Regions from separate parts of the Homo sapiens genome. Here region 2 is linked to region 1. Evidence: promoter capture Hi-C in 16 types of primary human blood cells and fetal thymus (Javierre and others, 2016). All regions are on one chromosome and are shown on one strand. The core of a region is centred on a gene start or on the middle of the fragment in contact, and the rest is flanking DNA. Distances in the headings are between cores, read along the strand shown.

Region 1 (2,601 bases), core at 1-2,500:
CAGCCTCCCACAAGAAGCTGGTGGAGCAGAGTGTTCCCTGACGCCTCCAAGGAAAGGAGACTCCCCTTCGCAGTCTTCTAAGTAACGGGTGGCTTCCCAGACAACGGCATTACTGCTTGACCAAGGAGCCCTCAAGCAGCCCTTATGCGGGAGTGACAGAGGGCTCACCTCTTGCCTTCTAGGTCACTTCTCACAATGTCCCTAGGTTATATTAGTAATGCAACAAAGAGTAATATTAAAAGCTAATGATTAATAATGTTTATACTAATGATTGATAATTATCCATGATCATGATCATTTTTATATCTAATTTGTATTATGACTATTTTTATTTTAACTGTTTTTTTTTTAAAGATGGAGTCTTGCTCTGTCGCCCAGGCTGGAGTGCAGTGGCGCAATCTCGGCTCACTGCAAGCTCCGCCTCCTGGGTTCGCGCCATTCTCCTGCCTCAGCCTCCTGAGTAGCTGGGACTACAGGTGCCCGCCACCGCGCCCGGCTAATTTTTTGTATTTTTAGTAGAGATGGGGTTTCACCGTGTTAGCCAGGATGGTCTCGATCTCCTGACCTCGTGATCCACCCGCCTCGGCCTCCCAAAGTGCTGGGATTACAGGCGTGAGCCACCGCTCCCGGCCTATTTTCTTTGTTATACTGAAACAGTTTGTGTCTTCAGTCTCTTGCCTTGGCATCTAGGTAATCCTTCGCCCACAGATGAAAGCGGAGCTCTGCTGACATTGGTGTCTTCTCCAGACGTAGTTGGTTGTCCAAATTCTTTCCCTTGGCTTTAAAGTGAGCCGGCGGTGTCCTGCTCCCAAGCCTGAGAGATGATGGGCACAGGCGACACTTTTTAGGACATGCCGATGTTTTCAGAAACAAAACAAGAAATGTTAGCCCTGAAATTCTCCATTTCACGTGTTCTTCCTGATATTAACCACACATTCTTTCCGATATTAACCACCACATCGTCTTTTTGCAATAATCTTGGCAGGGAAAAATATGCTAGCCAGGGTCCACTACGTCGATTTCAAGCACGGAAGATGGGTCACACCAGGCACTTCAAAAGACCCGTCCCTGAGGCAGCGGAGACCCCGCCCCGCCCCGGCGCGCCCACTCCTTTCGGCCAATCACTGCAGCGGGGAGCAGCTATTTGAATGTCCCCACCGCCTATCTGAAGGCCGCCCTGCCATTGGCCCCGCCGCGCCCCGCCCATCGTGGCCAGAGCTTCAAGTTCCGCAGCCCCAGTGCGGAGGGCGGAGACTGCGCCGACATGGAGCTGTTCCTCGCGGGCCGCCGGGTGCTGGTCACCGGGGCAGGCAAAGGTGGGCGGCGGGGAAAGGTGGGCAAAGGCCGGCGGCGGGCAGAGGCGGGCAGGGGACGCCTTCACTGAGCCCGCTCCCGGCAGGTATAGGGCGCGGCACGGTCCAGGCGCTGCACGCGACGGGCGCGCGGGTGGTGGCTGTGAGCCGGACTCAGGCGGATCTTGACAGCCTTGTCCGCGAGGTAGGTCCCGCCGGGTCCCAGCGCTGCGAGGCGGCGAGCCAGGAGGGGGCGGCAGCGAGCGGGGGCGGTACCTCTGTGCGCGACTCCGCCTCCCCTCGCGGGCGCTGCGCTTCTCACCGCGGCCTGGGCGCCCGCGCACCCTCTCTCGGGGCTGGTGGCCTGCGTGGGCGGCCGGGTGGTCGGCAGAGCCGCCGGGGCCCCCGGGCTCAGAAAGAGGCCGAAATGGCTGCGAAGCAGGCCCCGGGCAGGAGTCGCTCGGGCGCAGGGAGGAAGTGAACCGGCCGGAGGTAGCGCCCGGCTGCTGGCCCCACAGTCCCGACACCTTCGGAACTCCTAACTCCTTTACTTGTCCGGCTGAAAGGTCACCAGCCCCAGTCCCCAGCTGTGCCGCTTGCTGGGCACAGAGCCTCTGGTAACTGCCCCCTGATACACACAGTGCCCGGGGATAGAACCCGTGTGCGTGGACCTGGGTGACTGGGAGGCCACCGAGCGGGCGCTGGGCAGCGTGGGCCCCGTGGACCTGCTGGTGAACAACGCCGCTGTCGCCCTGCTGCAGCCCTTCCTGGAGGTCACCAAGGAGGCCTTTGACAGGTGAGCCTGTGAGGGCGGAGGAACCTCAGGGAGGGGCTGTCCTGGAGGACGCAGCAGCCCTAATCTCTGACCAGGGTCTGTCCCTCGGCCTCTAGATCCTTTGAGGTGAACCTGCGTGCGGTCATCCAGGTGTCGCAGGTGAGCTGCCCTGTGGGCTGGACGGGAATTCTCGTGAGTGATGCCAGCTCTGCCTCACGGTCTCGCTGCGATTCCAGATTGTGGCCAGGGGCTTAATAGCCCGGGGAGTCCCAGGGGCCATCGTGAATGTCTCCAGCCAGTGCTCCCAGCGGGCAGTAACTAACCATAGCGTCTACTGTGAGTGCCCCAGCTGTGCCCTCAGCCCCACCCCAGCCCCAGCCTCGCCCTCATCACCGACCCCAGCCCCAGCCAGCTTGGGTTCCTCTTCGTAGGCTCCACCAAGGGTGCCCTGGACATGCTGACCAAGGTGATGGCCCTAGAGCTCGGGCCCCACAAGGTGAGCAGGGCTGGGGTACCTCCCCCAACCTAGGACAC
Region 2 (6,297 bases), core at 2,889-5,388, 370 kb before region 1:
GAGCTGCTGCTTCCTCTTCCCTCTCAGCCTCCGCAGGTCACCAAGGTACGGGGAGAGACAGGGGCATGTGCGGAGCAGTTCGCTGTGCCCTGGGGAAGGACTGGGACTAGACCCACAAGCTCCACTCTGGTGGTCTCAGGAGGGTTTTCTGCTCCAGTGGTCTCAGGAGGGTTTTCCTCTCTGGCGGTCTCAGGAGGGTTTTCTGCGCCAGTGGTCCCAGGAGGGTCTTCCTCTCTGGTGGTCTCAGGAGGGTTTTCTGCTCTGGTGGTCTCAGGAGGGTTCCCCCCTCTGGTGGCCTCAGGAGGGTTTTCCTCCCTGGTGGTCTCAGGAGGGTTTTCCTCTCTGGCGGTCTCAGGAGGGTTTTCTGCTCTGGTGGTCTCAGAAGGGTTTTCTGACGGTGCCTGTGGGTGTCTGGACCTGCAGTCAGTGATGGTTCAGGAATGCTGTTGACGCCGTGTCTGGGGTTTCTGTGACTTTCCCAGGGTTTGGGGCAGCAACAGGTGCCTCTGGATTAAATTTCCAGTTGGAGCCACTGGAAGCCAAGGTGGCCCAGTGAGACGTGAACTCCAGATGCACCGCACAAAGCGCATGCACGCTGGAGAGCTGTGGTTGTGTGTGTCTGAAATTCACATTTGACCGGGCGTATTAGCCAGTTCTGGCCCTGATTCCCTGGAAGGGCATGCGCCGGTGGCCTTGGAAACTGCGTCTCACCCTGGCTGTCCCTTCACAGGCTGCACTCCCCGAAAGTGCGGCAGAGGTGTCACCGATGTCGTCATCACCAGGGAGGAAGCGGAGCGGATTCGCAGGTAACCGCCTGTCCCTGAGCACGGTGGGATTCAAACAAACACACGCGGAGTGGGGCTAGGGCGGGAAGCAGAGCATTGTTAGTAATAAAGTGGTTTTAAGGATTTTATTGCCAGGCGTGGTGGCTCACGCCTGTAATCCCAGCACTTGGGGAGGCTGAGGCGGGCAGATTGCCTGAGTTCAGGAGTTCGAGACCAGCCTGGGCAACATGGTGAAACCCTGTCTCTACTAAAATACAATAAATTAGCTGGGTGTGGTGGCATGTGCCTGTAGTCCCAGCTACTCAGGAGGCTGAGGCAGGAGAATCGCTGGAACCCGGGAGGCAGAGGTTGCAGTGAGCCAAGACTGCACCACTGCACTCCATCCTGGGCGACAGAGCGAGATTCTATCTCCAAAAAAAAAAAAAAGATTTTATTATAATTTTATAAGAATTTCCAGGCTGGGTGCGGTGGCTCATGCCTGTAATCCTAGCACTTGGGGAGGCCAAGGCGGGTGGATTGCCTGAGCTCAGGAGATCGACACCAGCCTGGGCAACATGGTGAAACCCCTGTCTCTACTAAAATATGAAAAATTAGCCGAGTGTGATGGCACACTCCTGTAATCCCAGCTACTCAGGAGGCTGAGACAGGAGAATTGCTTGAACCTGGGAGGCAGGGATTGCAGTGAGCCGAGATTGAGCCATTGCATTCCAGCCTGGGTGACAGAGTGAGACTCCATCTCAAAAAAAAAAAAAAAAAAAAAAAAAAGAATTATGTGCTTTCAAGGGCCAAGCTCAGATTTTCCGATTTCAGGAGAGGAGACCATGGCCCTCAGCGAAGCAGTAGCTGGGAGAGTACCCAGAGGCCCAGGTTCCTCTGCAGGGGTTGTGGCCGCCTCTGGGGGCTGCTGCTGAGTGCCCCATGCTCCCCACGGAGCCTCCGGGACACTGCTCAATGACCGCTCAGTGTCTGCTCTGAAACTGCCTCCAGGGAGCCCGTCAGCCCACCTGGCTATGACTTGTGGCAGCACAGGATGCCACTCAGAGGCTACTGGTGCTGGACTTTTCTTACTGAGATCTTAAAAGAAAGTTTTGATTTTCCAACCACTTGTTGAGACGATAAGCATGTGGAATGGTGTGCAGCCCTGGGCCACGTGCCCTGCCCTGAGATTCTCCCCAGGGAGCCTGCCCCCGAGGATGCTGCCTAGCTCCACGCAGGGTTACTGCTGCCTAGCTCCAGTGGGGTTACTGCTGTCTGACTGAGGCACCGGCGTGTCCCCACTTGGTGTCCACAGGCAGCTCCCAGCACCTGTGGCAGCTCAGGGTGGTCCTCTGTGGTCCAGCACAGCTGGCGTGTGGGTGTCTTTCTCCCACCATGGTCAGGGCCCCTATCTCCTGAGCTGGTGAATCTCAAAGCTTCCCCCACCTGCCTGGGGTTCCAGGAGAGATGGGGAGCAGTGGGCCCTCCCCTAGATGCTCCCCAGGCTCCTGAGCTTGGCCCAGGTGGCTTTCGATATTGAAGATGAGAGATTAAGCCCAGCCCTCCCTTTCTCTCTCTCTCTCTCTCTCTCTTTTTCTTTCTTTCTTGACAGAGTCTTGCTTTGTTGTCCAGGCTGGAGTGCAGTGGCGCGATCTCGGCTCACTGCAACCTCTGCCTTCTGGGTTCAAGCGATTCTCCTGGCTCAGCCTCCAGAGTAGCTGGGATTACAGGCACCTGCCATCACAGCTGGCTAATTTTTGTATTTTTAGTTGAGACGAGGTTTCACCATGTTGGCCAGGCTGGTCTGGAACTCCTGACCTCGTGATCCACCCGCCTTGGCCTCCCAAGGTGCTGAAGCCCAGTCGTTTCTAAGCTGAGTCAAATATTGACAAGACAACGATGGCAGTATTGTCGCTTACGCACTGAACTTTGAAAGTTGAGTCCTTTGGTCTAAACATTTGTTTACATCATAAACATTAAACACGCAGGACCCACTAATGTTGCATTAATTTTGCTGATTGACGTTTGCCTAGATTATACATTATAGACAATTCTAGCAACGAAATTCTGAATTATTTTCTCCCTGCAGCGTAGCTGAAAAGGGGCTCTCCCTGGGAGGATCTGACGGAGGGGTGAGTTGAATGTAGTCCCTGCCCCCCTTTTTTTACCCGTTAACTTTGCTCTCACTTGGATGGGAAGGGGAAGGCACAGACATGCAGGGTTCCCTGCGTGCCCCCAAATGTGGGTGGGGCCTGCCGTGGTGTTTCTCAGCACCAGCCGCAGCAGCTGCGCCTGACTGAAACCCGTGCGGCGTCCCCTCGTTGGGAAGAGTGTGTCCTTAGATGTGCGTGGCCATCTATTCATGGCATGTCACGGCCTGCCTGGCTCCAGTTCACACTGGGGGATAGAGGGGGTCGGAAGCAGGGAGCCGGCAAGGGAGCGGGGTGGGAGCCCAGCGAGGAGACGGCTGCGCATGCTGGACACAGGAGAGCCCGTGGAGCTGCCGGGAAACAGCAGGGCCTCCGTGGGACAGACACGCTGCAACGCATCCTGCAACTTCCTAGCTGGACGCCTCCATGGACGCCCTGTGGGGCTGTCGTCCCATGTGAGGCTGCAGGGGGTCAGCTAGTGGCCTCGGATAATGTGTTCACCTGGAGCCCGTGGACATGATCTGATTTGGAAAAGGGACCTTTGCAGATGTAATTAACTTAAGGATCTCAAGATGACATCATCCCAGATTTAGGGTCCTAAATCCAATGGCAAGTGCCTATAGGAGACAGAGGCAGGGGGAGATTTGAGAGGGAGGAGGAAAAGGTCCTGTGATGATGGAGGCAGAGATGGGAGCAGTGCGGCCATGGAAGAGGCGGGCAGGACCTCCCCTGGAGCCCTGGGAGGGAGCAGGGCCCCTCCCACACCTCGATTTTAGACTCCTGGGCTCTAGAACTGTGAGAGAATAAACTTGTGTTGTTTTAAAGCCCCAGTTTGTGTTACCACAGCCGCAGGGATCATGGAGCCACCGCCGGCTGTGGCCTCGCCCTCCTGTTGGGCAGTGGCTGGGAGTCAGTCTGGTGCAGCTGGTGTTAGCTCCAATTCCCATGCGGTTTCCTCAGGGTTGTTTTCTTGCTCGGTGTGTGGAATTGTCTGAAGATCTGTTTCTCTCTGTTTATTTGGTGATCGCTTTGAATTATAATCACTGAATAGACTTGAGTCTTTCTGCATATTTGAAACTTCTAGAAAATTAATTTATAGACTCTTTGAGAATTTCAAAGTATTTCTGTGATGGTCTGTGTGACTTTTTTCTGCAAACTCTTTTCTCTTGAGTTCTGAAAATTAAGTTCCTTTTTTTCTTCTTTTTTTGAGACAGAGTCTCGCTCTGTTGCCCAGGCTGGAGTGCAATGGGGCGATCTCCACTCACTGCAACCTCCAACTCCTGGGTTCAAGCCATTCTTCTGCCTTAGCCTCCTGAGTAGCTGGGACTACAGGCATGTGCCATGATGCCCGGCTAATTTTTGCATTTTAAATAGAGATGAGGTTTCACCATGTTGGCCAGGCTGGTCTTGAACTCCAGAGCTCAGGTGACCCACCTGCCTTGACCCCCCAAAGTGCTGGGATTACAGGTGTGAACCACCGTGCCCGGCCTAAGTTCCTCCCTTTATTTCAGTTTGGTTTGGTTCAGTTCGGGGGCTATTTGTTAAAGATCTGTGAGTGAGTAGGTTTCTGTTTCACAGCTCCTCCACGTTCACATGGGAAGTTGTCCTGCATGGAGCTGGCTGGGCCGCTGCTTTGGGTTCAGTTACTGTTCAGCGGGCCCAAGCTAGGTTAGTGCCGCAGGGCCAGTGGCTGTGGCGATGAGGAAGGGGCAGCAGTGGGGCTCCTCTGGGGTCACAGGTGGGATGACTAACGTGGGCTGGAAGCCTCTTCCTCTGAGGACGTAGGGAAGGACTGAGAGGTGGGTGGTCGGGCAGGAAACACTTCAGCAGTGGCTTACAAAGTGATGACTCAGGCTTGGCGTGGCGCGCACTGTGGTGCCAGCCGCCCAGGAGGCCAAGGTGGGAGCACCGCTGTGAGGCATTTACTCGAGAGAAGTCAACACTTGCCCACAGGGACACATGACTGTGACTGGCACGGAGCTGCACGGAGATGGCTCCAGACTAAAAATAGCCCACACGTGCCACCATTCTTTAGGTCACAGGGAACAAAAGTGTTTGGTCCAGGAAGATTTTTTTTTTTTTTTGAGATGGAGTTTCGCTCTTGTAGCCCAGGCTGGAGTGCAATGGCACGATCTCGGCTCGCTGCAACCTCCGCCTCCCTGATTCAAGTGATTCTCCTGCCTCAGCCTCCCAAGTAGCTGGGATTACAGCTCCTTGGGAGGCTATCTCTGTAGGTGTCCCAGCTACAGCTGGGATTACAGCTCGCCACCATGCCCAGCTAATTTTGTATTTTTAGTAGACATGGGGTTTCACCATGTTAGCCAGGCTGGTTTTGAACTCCTGGCCTCAAGCAATCCACCTGTCTCAGCCTCCCAAAGTGCTGGGATTGCAGGTGTGAGCCACCACGTCTGGCCGGTCTGGGAGGATTTTAAGAAAGTCCTGGGTTGAGGCTGGGTGCAGTGGCTAATGCCTGTAATCCCAGTACTTTGGGAGGCTGAGGTGGGAGGATCACTTGAGCCCCGGAGTTCGAGACCAGCCTAGGTAATATAGTGAGACCACATCTCTACAAAAAATAGAAAAATTAGCCAGGTGTGGTGGCGAGCGCCTTTACTTGGGAGGCAGAGGGTGGGAGGATTGTTTGGCCTGGAGCCTGGAATATTGAGGCTGCAATGAGCTGAGATTGTGCCACTGCGCCCTAGCCTGGGCAACAGAATAAGATCCTTTTTACAAAAAACAAAAACAAAAACAAAAAAACACCTGAGGTGTGTGCTGGCCAGACCTTGGAAACTCGCATTTACCATCCATGACTTTTAACAGCCATTGCCATTGCTGCGGCTGCACGCTTTACTCCACAACGTCTTTTCCAGGCATCCATTCTGGACTTGCACTCAGGGGCCCTGTCTGTCGGGAAGCACTTTGTGAACCTGTACAGGTGAGTGCTGCAGCATGACCTCAGTGCTGGCTCTGAAAGCCGAGTGAGCGGCTCCGTGCCTCTTAGCCATGGACATGTGGACACGTGGACATGTGAGGGAGGATCCGGCTCGGTGCAGCCTCAGGGCCTCAGTGGCTGTGATGTTGGCCGGGTCCTTCCTGGTTCTTTGGGACGCAAGAGCTGGGAGGTGTGGACTCTCCACAGCCTGTGGGCAGGGGGCTTGTTCATGAAGCTTTAGGGGAATCTGGTGTTTTTGTGGGCCCAGGGACAGAAGGGATGGGAGCAAGAGGCAGCAGAGATGGGAGGCTCCCAGGAGCAGCTTCCAAGAATCCAACGGGGCCTTTGACGCTCCATGAGGGGCCGGGAGAGCAAAGAGACCCTCCCTGCGTGGATCCGTGTCAGCCTCATGCATTAGCCCTGGGTCTTGCTCCCGGCTGGCTCCTTGTTTTTATTA

The links. The method cuts DNA at HindIII sites, captures the fragments that hold promoters and counts their contacts. A CHiCAGO score of 5 or more calls a contact.
Region 2: a fragment that was not itself captured here is called in contact with the fragment with the promoter of DCXR in region 1 in 2 of 17 cell types (non-activated CD4 T cells and total CD8 T cells); the score reaches 7.3 in non-activated CD4 T cells.

What each region holds. Positions count from the first base shown.
Region 1 is chr17:82,036,346-82,038,946 of GRCh38, reverse strand. It overlaps DCXR (dicarbonyl and L-xylulose reductase), which reads left to right and starts at 1,250. Exons shown (of 8, transcript NM_016286.4): 1 at 1,250-1,316; 2 at 1,400-1,497; 3 at 1,934-2,088; 4 at 2,184-2,226; 5 at 2,304-2,403; 6 at 2,499-2,563. The coding sequence starts at 1,265. It overlaps DCXR-DT (DCXR divergent transcript), which reads right to left and starts at 1,029. Exons shown (of 2, transcript NR_159948.1): 1 at 679-1,029. RefSeq lists a silencer at 1,030-1,859. The HindIII fragment of the contact is 4,930 bases long and covers 1-2,601 here.
Region 2 is chr17:82,405,964-82,412,260 of GRCh38, reverse strand. OGFOD3 (2-oxoglutarate and iron dependent oxygenase domain containing 3) reads left to right here. Exons shown (of 9, transcript NM_024648.3): 3 at 731-806; 4 at 2,851-2,893; 5 at 5,779-5,843. Among named protein-coding and RNA genes, the nearest start is that of HEXD, 9.2 kb to the left of the region's middle. The HindIII fragment of the contact is 3,878 bases long and covers 2,200-6,077 here.